Linked DNA regions of Homo sapiens: region 1 is linked to region 2. The links are contacts of gene promoters, found by promoter capture Hi-C in human tissues and cell types (Jung and others, 2019). All regions are on one chromosome and are shown on one strand. The core of a region is centred on a gene start or on the middle of the fragment in contact, and the rest is flanking DNA. Distances in the headings are between cores, read along the strand shown.

Evidence for each region. The method cuts DNA at HindIII sites, captures the fragments that hold promoters and counts their contacts. A contact is called where the count stands out against the background at its distance.
Region 1: a contact is called between a fragment that was not itself captured here and the fragment with the promoter of CD59 in region 2, in 1 of the 25 tissues and cell types used here (lymphoblastoid cells).

The regions. Positions count from the first base shown.
Region 1 is chr11:33,181,129-33,183,828 of GRCh38, forward strand. All of the region lies in intron 1 of CSTF3-DT (CSTF3 divergent transcript), which reads left to right. Among named protein-coding and RNA genes, the nearest start is that of CSTF3-DT, 21 kb to the left of the region's middle. The HindIII fragment of the contact is 5,099 bases long and covers 1-2,700 here.
Region 2 is chr11:33,735,006-33,737,706 of GRCh38, forward strand. CD59 (CD59 molecule (CD59 blood group)) reads right to left here and starts at 1,418. Exons shown (of 4, transcript NM_000611.6): 1 at 1,377-1,418. RefSeq lists a silencer at 1,067-1,536. The HindIII fragment of the contact is 16,078 bases long and covers 1-2,701 here.

The sequences.
Region 1 (2,700 bases), core at 71-2,570, 550 kb before region 2:
ACATGGAGGTCTCTGCCCAACGCTGAGTCGCAACTGCCACATTCAGGACACATGTCTCCAACACTTACATAAAGGACTTTTAGGCTGGGCGCAGTGGCTCACACCTGTAATTAGCCGGGTGTGGTGGTGGGCGCCTGTAGTCCCAGCTACGCGGGAGGCTGAGGCAGGAGAATGGCGTGAACCTGGGAGGCGGAGCTTGCAGTGAGCTGAGATCGCGCCACTGCACTCCAGCCTGGGGGACAGAGCGAGACTCCGTCTCAAAACAGCAACAACAACGACGACAACAAAAAAAAACTACAAAAATTAGCTGGGCGTGGTGGCACACTCCTGTAGTCTCAGCTATTCAGGAGGCTGAGGGAGGAGAATGGCGTGAACCCGAGAGGCGGAGCTTGCAGTGAGCTGAGATCACGCCACTGCACTCCAGCCTGGCGGACAGAGCAAGACTCCGTCTCAAAAAAAAAAAAAAAAAAAAAAAAAAAAAACCGGCTTTCAACTGAAATCATAGAAGACCACCTTTTTATAGCCTCCAAAGTAATCATTGATCCATACAATAATCATCAATAAATACTAAAACTATTATGTGAAATACTGTTGGGGAACAGGATACTCATAGTTTCCAAGTATCACTCCACAGAATATTTCTTAATTACAAAGGAAAAACATCTTTATGTCAGAGAAATCCAGGAGGACCTTAGCTGAATGTACAAAGTTTGTTTTTTGGCTCTTCTTGTTGTAGTTTTTAAGACAGAGTCTCGCTCTGTTGCTCAGGCTGGAGTGCAGTGGCATGATCTCCGCTCACTGCAACCTCCGCCTCCTCGATTCAAGCCATTCTCCTGCCTCAGTCGCCCAAGTAGCTGGGATCACAGGCGTGCACCACCAGGCCTGGCTAATCTTTGTATTTTTGGTAGAGACAGGGTTTTGCCATGTTGGCCAGGCTGGTCTAGAACTCCTGGCCTCAAGTGATCCGCCCACCTCAGCCTCCCAAAGTGCTGGGATTACAGGAATGAGCCACTGCACCGGCCTGAACAAAGTTAATGAAGCAAACTGACATGCTGTGCCCCTTGTGTTGGGGATCCCTAAGATCAACCTCAGGTTTGATGATTCACTAGAAGTACTCAAAAAACTCAAAAAAAACCTGTTCTGCTCACAGCTACAGTATCTTACAAAGAAAGGGCACAGATTTAAATCAGCAAAGTGAAAAGGTGCATGAGGTTAAGTATAGGAGAAATCAGGGGCAAGCTTCCAGTTGTCCTCTCCCAGTGGGGCCACACAGACTGTACTTAATTCTCTCAGCAACTATGTGTGACAACAGGTGTGAAGACTGCTGTCCAAAGAAGCAGACCCAAGCCCCTTGGTCCTCAGGATTTTCACATAAGCATGTGTTGTCCATGTGGCTGACTTTAGCTGTCCAGTCTCCAGACCTCGAGAGGTCAAACTGATATAGCATGGTCCAGGACCCCAGGCATAGAAAAACAGGTGTTCACGGTAAGTCAGATCGTTAGCACAAACTAACTGATCAAACAAATAATTTGGCCCAGGGCCTAAGGCATATAGAAACACTCTTATCAGGCAGGATAATTGCTCAGAGGTTACCTTCCAGCAGCAGGTCAAGGTCCAGTCCTTTCTTGGGGATGTTTGAACAGTCCAAGCCTCCTGAGTTAACCCCTTACAGAACACTCCCTGATATGAAAAGGGCACAAATCAACAATGTAGTATACTGCAAAAATATCTTATCTAGATATAACAATGAGGAAACCATTAGAGATCCCAGGATTGATCAGCTTGGCAAAACAATTGTCCTGACTCTTTAAAAAAATGTCAATTATGGAAAACAAAAACAAACAAAAAAAAGGGGGCAACTTTTCTAGATTAAAGGGCAACTTTTCTAGATTAAAGGAGACTTCTACTTTTTATTTCTATGGTTTTGACTGCTTGAGATACTTCATATGAGTGGAATCATAAAGGGAGTGTCTTAAGTAACATGACTATGGGAGATGGGACAAAACAAGAGGCACTTGGATTAATTTAATAAGTGTCCTGTTGAATTTAAGAATATAATGTTTGACACATGCACAAGCAGATCAGTAGCAGACTTAGGGAATTACTATTAGGCATATTTCACTTAGCATTATATCCTTGAGGTTCATCCATGTTGCAGCACGTGACAGGATTTTTAGTTGATCCTAGAACTAGTTCCTCATCTTTTTTTTTTTACATAGCACAATGTGTGATCCTTCACAGATATTCCATTCTATGTGTGTATCACATTTTCTTTTTCCGTTCATCTGTCAATGGATACTCGTGTTACTTCTACCTCTCGGCTACTGTGAACAATACCAGGATGAATATGGGTGTGCAAATATCTCTTCAAGACTGCTTTCAGAGACGAGGCACAGTGGCTCACTCCTGTAATCCCAGCACTTTAGGAGGCTGAGACGGGTGGATAACTTGAGCCCAGGAGTTTGAGACCAACCTGGGCAACATGGCAAAACCCGTCTCTACAAACTCAGGAGCTGATCCTGGGGAGGTCAAGGCTGTAGTGAGCCGTGATTGCACCACTGCACTCCAGCCTGGGCAATGGAGTGAGAGCTTGTCTCTAAAATAAATACATAAATAAATAAAGGACCCTGCTTTCAGTTATTTTGGATGTATATTCAGAAGTGAGACTGCTGGATCATATGATAAGTCTATTTTTAATTT
Region 2 (2,701 bases), core at 168-2,667:
CTAGTTTCCACTGTGAAAATACAGAGGCCACAAGTTTTAGGACTGTTTGGCTTGTAGGGGAGGCAGCCTCCCTTTCTGCCTCTCCTTCATAAACTGCCACGTAAATAGCCACATTTTGGCAAACGTTGCCATCTCCCTCAACATTCGGGGCTCTGTGCCTTCTTCAGGGAACTGGGAGTAAACCGCCAGGAGTGGAGAACTTGAACAACTGCTCAGGGATCGCAGGGTACCTGAAATAATTAGCAGCCGCCGCGTTTGTGCTGAGCGCTTTCCGTCAATCATCTCAACCACCCTGTGAAGTGAAGCCTATTGTTTTACCCATCAAGTGCTGTTAAATACTTCCAGAAATGACCAGTGAAGAGCCTGGGTATCACTAAACGGCCATAAAAGGCACACTGCTTAATGTTGGTTTTTTTTGTTTGTTCTTTGTGGGTTTTGTTCGTTTTTGAGGCGGAGTCTCGCTCTTATTGCCCAGGCAGTAGGGCAATGGCGCGATCTCGGCTCACCGCTACCTCAGCCTCCCGGGTTAATGTTGTTTTTTGAAAAGTCAGCAGTCAGACTCTAAGAAGGGTGCGGCCCGAGCCGACCCAAGAAAACAAAACATCACGTTGTACTTAAAACGTCCGTTTCGGCCGGGCGCGGTGGCTCACACCTGTAATCCCAACACTTTGGGAGGCGGAGGCGGGCGGATCACGAGGTCAGGAATTCAAGATCAGCCTGACCAACATGGGAAAACCCCGTTTCTACTAAAAATACAAAATTTAGCCAGGCATGGTGGCGCATGCCTGTAATCCCAGCTACTCAGGAGGCTGTGGCAGGAGAATCGCTTGAACCCGGTACACGGAGGTTGCGGTGAACCCAGATCGCGCCACTGCACTCCAGCCTGGGCAACAGCGAAACTCCATCTCAAAAAAAAAAAAAAGTCCGTTTCGCCCGACACCTGCTTTTCAAAATTACACATTTAGACCGCGAGGGGAGAGAGGAACTGCCGTGACCACGGAGGGCTGGCCTTTCCCCCGGCGCAGTTTCTCTGGACCGCTAGAGCTTCCCTTGAGACGAAAGCGATGGCAGGGGCCCGGGTGCGAGGCTGCCCCCGAGGGAATGGGGGGCGCGACGGGGGTAACGGGGCTGCTTCTGGGAGAGGGCGCGCTCCCCGTTTCTCCTTCCTCGTAGATAAAATGAAGCCAGCGTTCGGCTAGGACACCGGGCCGCGGTGACGGGTTGGAAGGGCCAGGCCTCGGGAGGCTCGCCCGGCAGGGGTCGAGTGGAAAGCGAGGACGGGGGTAGCCCCCACAGACCCTCCGCCCGGGCCCAGACTGCCGCCGCCACCTCGGCTCGGCTCACCCAAACCCCAGCAGGCCTTCGGGCCTTCTTACCTGGCGGCGCCCAAGATCCTCTTCCAGCCTCGAGCCGCTTCTGCGCTCAGCCCCCGCATTCTTTCGCTCCAGCCCGCAAGGCTCCGCCCCCCGGCCCCGCCCCTCAGGATGCCCTTGCCCTCCCAGGCTCCCGGCTCCCGCACCGCGCAGCCGCACCTCGGCAGGAACCTCCTCCTCTCCCTCCACCCCCGCGCGGAGCTCAGCCTCCTGGCCCAGGTTCTGAGAAGGCCGGGTGGCCAGGACCCAATGAGCACCTTCAAAACCCCAGGGAACTGAAAGTTTGGGGCGTCCTCCTCGGATTTGCTATGGGACATAAAAACAGTAGGAAACTTCCAAAGACTTCTGATTTTCCCTTTTACTTTTTTTTTAAGTATATTAAAATGTTTTTCAAAACGTTTCTGTGCGTCTTGCTGGTGCCCTGGGTGCCCCAGGGCCTGGCTATCGGGCTATGCGGCCCTGCTGCAGTCTGAAGCTGCTTCCTACTGCGAGGCTTGGGCAGCATCCAAATAGCCATCAGCCACAGCCGCATCCGTATCCGTGCCTTGTGACTTGTTTGAGACCCAAACAAAATGTTATGCGTTTAAAAGCTTACTGGGCTGCTCGGGGACCAGTGTTTTGAATGAACCTCTTCGAGTGTCTCTATCAACTTAGCTGGTAGCTACTGTTCCCCAGCAGCCACCAGAGGCAGGGACAGAAGAGCAAGACCAGGGGATCCGCCTGCATGAGTCTGTCCCTTCAGGGTGGCCTCGCCTCAGGGACTGGATTGTAGGCATGGTTTCAATAACACAGCGGTGTGAAAGTTTAAGAGTTTTTAGTACTTACGGACCCTGGGTGGTACACAGCTTGCCTAGAGGACACACACACACACACACACACACACACACACACACACACGGAGATCAGGGAGAACAGGGAGAGGGAAGGGAGGAACGGACCTTTGGGCCAGCAACTTTATCCAGTTAGGTTTCCTCTGGAGAGCTCTAACTGGTGGATTTAAAAGCAAGCAGGTGAAAAGGCAGAGGTGGGAGGAACTTGAACCAGAGTTTGAAGCTGCAGTAGTGCCCTGTTATCACATCACTGCATGTTTATCTCTGGCCACCAGCTAGAGCCATTTGCGTGGGGTATAGTACTGGAAACTGTCAATGGTGACTGAGACTTGCTTCTGTTATTAAAAGTTAAACATATTCAAAAATGGATGCTGAGGTAACAAAAAATTATAAGCACTCACCAGAACCGCAACCACCATTTGGAACATTAGTTTTATGTGCAGATGTAATTAGAAGTTTCCATTTGCTATTATATTTGGAAAGTGTCCCACTCACTGC